2 separate regions of the Homo sapiens genome follow, and region 2 is linked to region 1. The links are contacts of gene promoters, found by promoter capture Hi-C in human tissues and cell types (Jung and others, 2019). All regions are on one chromosome and are shown on one strand. The core of a region is centred on a gene start or on the middle of the fragment in contact, and the rest is flanking DNA. Distances in the headings are between cores, read along the strand shown.

Region 1 (4,443 bases), core at 978-3,477:
CCTCAGAGAATTTGAGGATTAGATGAAACAAAGGACATGCTGGGTCTGACACATAGTAGGTGCTTAGAAACATCTGTGGAATTAGTAGATGTAGAGCCCTGCCTAAGGCTATTAGGTTCTGAGGACTGAGTTAAAGTAGAGATCCAGGGTGCAGAGGAGGTGGCTGGTTCCAAGGATGAATGATAGAAAGAACTGAAAGAAGTGTACAGTCTAGGTGGGCCACAAATTGGGCAGGAGCTGGATTGGATGTCTGTTGGATGAGTCTCTGAATTACGGAGGTCAGGGACAGTTTTCTGAGTTGTAGAGTCAGAGAAATATGGGTAAGAGACATGGAGAGCTTCCTTTAAAGGGTGCCCACAAGATTCATGGGGGGAGGGGGAAGGTGTTTTTTTTTGTTTTGTTTTGTTTAGACAGGGTCTCACTCTGTCACCCAGGCTGGAGTGCAGTGGCATCATCTTGGCTCACTGCCACTACCACCTCCCAGGTTCAAGTGATTCTCCTGCTTTAGCTTCCTGAGTAGCTAGGATTACAGGCATGTGCCACCATGCCACACTAATTTTTGTGTTTTTAGTAGAGATGGGGTTTTGCCATGTTGGTCTGACTGGTCTTGAACTCCTACCTCAAGTGATCAGCCTGCCTCGGCCTCCCAAAGTACTGGGATTACAGGTGTGAGCCGCCGTGCCGGGCCAATGGGGCAAGGTTTGAACAATGGTCCTGTAGTGAAGATGGCTAACTTCTCAGAAGAGAAGGCTGAAGAGGGCCTTGTATGTCAAATGGGGAGACGGGAGGTGAGTGTTGCCCTAGACTTTGAGAGCCAAAGGGGCTAACTGTCATCAGAAACAGTGGGAGGGAGATTCCTCTGCCTATAAGGGCTTTGGGTCCCAAAATAGAAACTGAGAAAGGTCAACCTGTCCTTCTGCCAGAGCTGGTTATCAGCAAGAGAGATGAGATGTCTCACCCTCTCTCATGTGACTTCTCAGTGGCCCTAATGGAGCTGGGAAGGGTATGAGCTGCAGTGGGGAGGTTCCCAGCTGCCCTTGGCCTTAAGACCAGTTTGAAGGGAAAGGCCACACCAGGGCATCCCATGGAAGCAGTCTACACTCATGTCTATCCCATTCAGAACCATTGAAGTCGGCCCGGCACTGTGTGGGGAGGCAAGACCAAGGAGGGGCTCGTGTCCAGGTTACAGCTGGGTTTGGACTTGGTTTATGCCAATGCTAGACCTGGCTTGGGAGGAGACCTTCCCTCAGGGTGGTGCAGCATGGTGGAGTGAGGAAAATACAGGATCTGATGTTAGAGAGATTTGGGTTGGAATATCAGTTTGCAATATGTCAGGCAGTATGTTTCTTTACTTTTCTGTGCTATAGGATCCCCCTTGCAGAATTAGCACTAGGATTTTTTTTTTGAGATGGAGTTTGCTCTTGTCGCCCAGGCTGGAGTGCCATGGCGTGATCTCGGCTCATTGCAACCTCCATTTCCCGGGTTCAAGCGATTCTCCTGCCTCAGCCTCCCGAGTAGCTGGGATTACAGGTATGCACCACCACGCCCGGCTAATTTTTGTATTTTTAGTACAGACGAGGTTTCCCCATGCTGGCCAGGCTGGTCTCGAACTCCTGACCTCAGGTGATCCCGCCTCAGCCTCCCAAAGTGCTGGGATTACAGACGTGAGCCTCCGCTCCCGGCCTTAGCACAAGGATTAAATGAGATGTTTATATGGCGTTTGGCATAGACACTGTCAAAGAGTAAATGGGCAATAAATTATAACAATGATCATTGGGGGCTGGCTATTGGAGAAGAGCTGGCTCTCTCCAGAGGAATTCGGATTACCTCCTTCTAGGCCCTAACCCCATTTACTGATCCCACAGGCCCCGCCCCGGCTCCGCTAGCCCCGCTTCCTCCTGTCGCTTTGGCCTCCGGCATGACGCATGCGCCCTCGGGCTCCTCCGCGGCAGCATCTCGGTTCTCCTCTCGGGCCCATCTGGAGCCTCGCGTCTTTTCCAGTGTGGGCCCCGCCCCCTGCCGGTAGAACCCCGTCCCCGGCCGGTAGGGCCCCGCCTCCCGAAGCAGTTCCGGTTCGGCTCCGAGCAGCTGCCGGCGCGGCGGTGACGGCGGCCGGGACGATGCCTGCGCGCAGTCGCCACCGCCCCCGCCTCCACTCCGGCTCCCCGCCCCGGGCTCCGCCCCCGCCGCTTGAGGCGCTTCACTCCGGCGAGGCGGGGAGGGCCCCGGACTCCGACGGCGGCTCGGACGCCGACTCGGAGGTGGGTCCGGGGAGCCCGACTCGGACCGCGGAGGTGAGCGGGAGCTGAGGCTGAGGAGAGGGGAGCTTGGGGGGCGCCTGCTGCCAAGGGTGAGTGGGGAGTCTGGGATGGAGCCGGGGGCTGCCGAGGGACCGCGACCTGGAGGGGCCCCGGGGAGACGGTTGAGGGAACCGGGATAGTCAGCTCTGGAATGGAATCTGAAGCAAATGGAGGTTGTCGAACTGAGGGCCTGAAGGCTGAGGGATAAGTGGAGGCCGAGGAACGAGAGGGAGAGAGCGAGAGGGGGAGGCTTGAAGAGCCCAGAGCTTGGGGGCTTTTGAAAGCTGCGCAGTGGGGGAAAAAGATCGAAGGTCCTGCGGGAATGTGGACCCGGAAGAAGAGATGCTCTGGGTTTGGCAGCGGGGATGAGGAGTCAGAGGAGCAAGACCTGGGCCGGTGTTCCCTTCCCAGGGCGAGGGAGGGCGATCGGGGCTGGGACTGGAGCCCTCTCATGGGGTTCTCCTCTTACGGAGCCCTCTTATCCGCCTCCCACCCCGGGTGGGGCTGGTGGTGATGGAGGGCAGGATTTAGGTTTGACTAGAAGGAGGAGGGCTGTTGGATGGGAAATCGTCTGGCCTCAAGGGGTGAGGGAGGCACTGAAAAAGAGAAGTGTGGTCAAGAAAGAAAAGGAGCCCTTGGGGATCTAATTTTGGGCTTTGGCATTTTTACAGGTGCCTTTTAAAACATCAAAGATCACTAGGGCAATGTACTTGGATCGTGGGGCTTTCTCGTTCGTGCACAGTGGATCATTTTAAGAATCTTGGGTGGAAGGGGCGGTGTGAATCACTGATTTGCCTAAAGGACTGGGGGAAGTAGTGGAGAGGAAGTGATGTTTGAAGAAGGTAGTGGAAGACGTGATTCTGAAAATGAAGATATCATTTGGATTTATTGACAGTAATGGTGTCCTTTTTTTCATTGTAATTTTTTCGTAGCTAAGTTTAAATACCAGACATGTTAAGATCCTAAAAATTTACTATATTACCTTTAAGTTTTAAAAACTTGAAACAAGACTTTGGATACTCAGATTTTAAAAATTAAACTTGAAACAAGAATTTGGACACTTGGATTTTACAGATACTCAACATGGACTGGTTCCACTTTCAAAGTTTTAAGTTGACACATGTATTTGCCACATAGTAAATGTATGGTCAATGCAAGTTTCTGGGTGAAGGGGGCACAGTGAACTTGCCACAGTCTAGGCGCAATACCAAATCTTCCTCTCACTGATAACCCCAGGATTGGACTTATCTCTTGAAAATTGGAGAGGTACCTTTGACTGATTGGCAAAACCAATATTGAAATACTATTTTGCAGGTATTGTGTGAATAGTATTTTTAGTAGAGTGATTTGGAAAAATAAGGACAGAGGATGCTTGTAGTTGGCAGCCAACACAACTGGGACAGGTGGGTATACAGATGCTTTTTATAGAAGACATAGTTCCAAAACATAATTATGCCAGAAAAAGAATGATTGCAATATTTATATTCACTTTAGTAGAGATAAATTGACTTCCTTTTGTGATTGTTAAGTCATAACATGGTTCCATGAAGTCTTTGACTTTAGCCACATGTCTCATATGTTTTACAACTTTTTATGTGATTATAGGTTTGTAAAGTTGTTGGCCATTTCTTTTCTCTTCCTTCTTTTCTTTTCTTTCCTTTCTTTTTTTTTTTTGAGACAGAGATTCGCTGTGTTGCCCAGGCTTAAGTGATCCTCCCACCTCAGCCTCCCAAGTAGCTGGGAGTAGCTGGGACTGCAGGTGGGCGCCACCATGGCTGGCTAATTTTTGTTAGCATCAAGCGTTTTCTAAATGCTTGATTAAATCTAAATGGATATCTACTGTTTAATCTTCATGAGATGATAATTTGATTTGCAACAGCTTTTAAATTAGTTTATGTGTATGGGCTATGTGACATACCCTCAGATGCACAGTGGAATAGTAATTGTTTCTTCAAAGGATATGTGAATTCTTAGCTAAAAATGCTGAGATTGTTAAAGTATTAATTCCCTTTTCTTTAACTTAATACAAATTATCTTCAGTTGAAGTTTATGTAATATTACTGTTTGTTGGTTTTATCTTTAGAGTGAGATCCTCTGGAGACCTTATCTTCATACTTAGTTGTGAATAAAAGTCATGGCATGT
Region 2 (4,443 bases), core at 1,156-3,655, 490 kb before region 1:
TTCTGATTCCACAGAAATTTTAGAATATTTTTTCTATTTCTGTGAAGAATGTCATTCGTATTTTGATAAGGGTTGTATTGAATTGGCGGATCACTTTGGGTAGTATATAGGTCTGTTTTTTTGTTTTTGTTCGGTTTGGTTTCTATTTCCTTTTGGGGCTTGTTTCTTGGTTTGCCTGATAATTTTTTATCAAATGTTAAACATTGTCCATAATAAATTATAGAGCTTCTGTTAGTGTAGAGTCCAATTAGATCTAGGACTAAGCCACCTCAAGGTTGGGTTATAGTTTTTGTAAGACCCAGTCTACCTCTCATTTGCTTCCACTTCTATACCATGGCCCTCCTGGAATCTCAGCTGAAATCCTGGTGTTTTTATGAGATCCCTACTCATTAATGGGTTCTGAACTCCAAATTTTATCTGTTTTGTGTACCATACAACTAGCACAATCACCACTCTGCCTTATGGATGCCTTATACTTGGTGTCTTGGCCTCTTGTCCTGCTTCCTGACAAGTGTGGCAAATACCTTGAGTAGAGTATTTCCTCTCCTGAGTTTCAGGCCTACTTTATTGTTTTCCCCTCCTCTTCAGGATCATGACCCTCAGTTCTGTCTGTCTTGACAGTCCCAAACTCGAATTTTTGTCTTACCACCCACTAGAGATTGCAAAAAGTTATGTTGGCTTCTCTGCCTCTTAGTAGTAGTCCATTGCCCAGATTCTCAGCCTCTTACCCGACACAGGAATTTGCAAATACCCTAGGGAGAAAACGACTTTTTGAATGTCAGTTTAGCTCTTTAAGATCCTCTTCTCTCTGAGACCTTCTCTTGTCAAATTTTGACTACCTTGTCAGCTCTCTCATCCCTTCTTTATTTAAAAAAAAAAATTAAGCTTTTCTGCCTTTTTATGGTCTGGGAATTGGTTTACTACAAGCTATGGCATTAGAGCCTAACCAATAGGTCCCTTATTGAATACATTTTTTTATTATTAAATAGAAAAATACATAGCCCGAGAAAGTTAAGTGGGCTTATCTGTGTATTAAGGAATACTGTTTTTAGGAATGTGACTTAGGAATACTGTTCTTCATACCGCACTTTGGGAACTGCTGGATTAGGTCACTTTCCCAAGGTCTCAGAATTAGAAACAAAAGCAGCTAGATTAGAACCCAGCCTCGGCCTGGTGCGGTGGCTCATGCCTGTAATCCTAGCACTTTGGGAGGCCAAGGCGGGAGGGTCACCTAAGGTCGGGAATTCAAGACCAGCCTGACCAACCTGGAGAAACCCTGTCTCTACTAAAAATACAAAATAAGCCAGGTGTGGTGGTGCATGCCTGTAATCCCAGCTACTCGGGAGGCTGAGGCAGGAGAATCGTTAGAACCCGGGAGGCGGAGGTTGCGGTGAGCCGAGATCACACTATTGCACTCTAGCCTGGACAACAAGAGTGAAACTCCGTCTCAAAAACAAAAAACAAAAAACAAAAAAAGAACCCGGCTTCTTGAATCCCAGACTAGTCCAATCTGTTCCATACCATGTTAACTCATTGGCTTACATCTGTGGTTTTCAACCAGAAACAACTTTCCCCCTTCCTTTCAGTTATGACAACTGGCTGGTATGGAAGAGTTGGGTCTTCCACTGGCATTTTGTGGGTAAAAGCCAGGGATGCTGCTATATATACTATAATGCACAAGACAGCCAATCCACAATAAAGAATTATCTGGCCCAAATTATTAATTGCCTCAAGATTAGAAAAGCCCTGTCTTACAGTATCCCTCAAAATTTATATATTTAAAGGATCACTGGCTGATTCCTCTTTACACTTAATCATAAGGTCAACACCAATAGGCTTTAGTAGGATAAAGCATCTTTATCCTACTAAACTACATCCAGAGGCCCTTTGACCCAAGAAAATGTCCATATATGATCTAGTCCGTACTTGCTTAACTGTGTTTCTCAAAGCTTTTGCCAAATATGCTCCAATTCTAAGACTTCTCTTTAGTTAGAATTTGTTAGAGCTGGAAAACTTTCTGGTGTAGAATTGTGCGTGCATATCTTGTAAATGCATTTTGTATGCATGAATGGATATCTAGATGATAGTGACATTTACCTACACATTTATAGATTTTATTTATATATATACACATATATACATAATATATATGTATTCTAGGCATATATATATATATACACACACATTAGTCTAAATGGTTCTTAGAAAATTTATTCATTTTGGTTTATAACTCTAATCAATTTCTATAATCAAAAGCTCTTGAAAATGTAATACAAATAGATATTTAATTAAAGAGGTATATTACCAAATGTTTTTCAGAATAATTATTGTTTGTACCAGTGAGTATTTCTTTCAGAAATTCAATTAGACTCTAAAATTCATTTTTCAGAGCATTACAACTTGGCGGCAAAATTTTCTTTTGGCTGAAACACTGCATGCAAGCTTTTGGCTCAGAAAAAAATCTTTGGAAGTATAGCTGAAAAGTCTGATTCAGATAACTGAATGGCTAAAATTTTCCTTGTTTAAAAGGAATAAACTGGTTACACGTGAAATATTAAAAACTGTATTTAAATGGATAGTTAACTATTGCCTTATTTCTTTTAAGTCTTAACCAAGCTGGCTTATCCTATTTCAACTGCTCTAGAACTCACATCATTTTTGATTCATTGATTTTTTTTTTTTTTTTAGTATCCCAATAGAAGCCATCATTTCTAAGGTTCCACCCCAACTTTGCTGAGCCTTGGCCCAGAAAATTTGTTTAGCTTTTCTCTGCTGTTGTTAAGCTATTTTAAATTTTAAATTTTTGTGTTTTTAAACCTTTCTGTGTTTTTAAAGCCTTTCTGGTTTAATAAACAATTCTAAAATCTCAAGAAAATATCCAAATTCTTTTGTTAATAATTTGGCACTTAGCCATCTATTCAATTTATTTATCATGGTAAATTTTGCTTATACTTAATTATTTCCTCTAGTCCTAGAACTCCACCCCTTACCATAATAAAGGGGCAGTTTATAAAACAGGTGTTTTTGTAAGTAATTTACATGGTTTAGTATGCAAAAAGTACAATAATAGAGCTGTTTAGCTGTCAGTACTTGTGAGGAAGTAAGCAGTTTTTTCGTTATTAGGATGACCATATAACTTATTAGAAAAACTCAGATGCTTTTGAGAGTGAAAGAGTGGGGTGCTATTAATAATACTAGGACAGTTCTGGGCAAACCAGCCCATATGGTCACACTAATCATTATAGATATTTAAACAAAAATATTTGGTAAAATGAATTTGTGTATTGGTTGAGGTTTTTGGCTGTGTTTATTTCTAACATTTCTTCCAGTGAAAAGATTCTTGATCATGTGCTAAGTATATGCCAGGTAATATAGAACTTAAAAAAAACATGAGAACCTCTAATCTCAAGCAGGACAAGTTGGAGAGGCAAGATACTTATAGATAATGCAGTAATGTAACAGCACAAATAAATTCAATTCATTATGGTTTTATTGAGTGCCTACTGTATGTCAAGAATTGTGGTTATAAAGATGAACAAAACAAAAACTCCTTTTCTTGAAATCTAGAAGAGACATACTTAAATAATATGATGTGAAAAATGATATTATTTTCATGAACTAATTTTTATAGAACAAATGGAACAAGAAGTTGGGGAAAGCTTTTCAAAGCAAGTGATGTATGAACTAGGCCTTGAGGAATCCTTACAATTTTGGCAAGTTGAGATTACAAAGGTATTCAAAGTTAATGAGGTAATAAAAGCAAAAGGCAGAGTCCTTCATATGATTTGTTACAAGAAATGGCAGAAGGGAGATATGGGGCAACCATCTCTGAAATGGTAATTGTGATGGGATTTAAATGCTATGCTGGGCAATACATTATTAAGTGCTTAAAGTATATATATATATAGAGAAGACATCCTTTGGACTGAGAAACATTTTGTGATCAGTTTACCGTAATTCCATAAAAGAAAGGAATCACACTTCCATTTGTTTATAAAGCCCTGTTTCAGAGGGATCAACAAATACTAAAGATGAAAATCCTTTTTTTAATTAAATGCTAAAGAATAAAAGCTGCAATAATCCCTCTAAAAAGTATTAGTGATGAACAATCCCATGGGGTTATAGTGAGACAAATGTGATAGGGTTAGAAAAATTGTAGAGAAAAATTATGGTAAAAGCACTAGGGAAATGCCTTAGAAAATTAATAAAGATTGGCTTGGTTTAAAGACGGTAAATAAAGACTAATGCAAAAGGCTAATGAATTCAGTCATGGAGAAAGTTTATACTATAGTGTTTGCTAAAAGAATTACCACTAGATGGGATTTTATTAAGCATTTTTTTATTCAAAGAAAAAGGGTAACTCATTAATAAAATGTGTAGTTGATACTAAATAAATAAATCAACTAGTGTAGTTGATACTAAATTAGGAGATAGTGTAGTTGA

Evidence for each region. The method cuts DNA at HindIII sites, captures the fragments that hold promoters and counts their contacts. A contact is called where the count stands out against the background at its distance.
Region 2: a contact is called between a fragment that was not itself captured here and the fragment with the promoter of SAMD8 in region 1, in 1 of the 25 tissues and cell types used here (aorta).

Annotation. Positions count from the first base shown.
Region 1 is chr10:75,109,429-75,113,871 of GRCh38, forward strand. It overlaps SAMD8 (sterile alpha motif domain containing 8), which reads left to right and starts at 2,228. Exons shown (of 6, transcript NM_001174156.2): 1 at 2,228-2,294. RefSeq lists enhancers at 1,038-1,987, 1,988-2,936 and a silencer at 1,975-2,314. The HindIII fragment of the contact is 21,981 bases long and covers 1-4,443 here.
Region 2 is chr10:74,621,559-74,626,001 of GRCh38, forward strand. The region is part of intron 9 of ADK (adenosine kinase); the gene reads left to right. Among named protein-coding and RNA genes, the nearest start is that of ADK-AS1, 94 kb to the left of the region's middle. The HindIII fragment of the contact is 4,426 bases long and covers 193-4,443 here.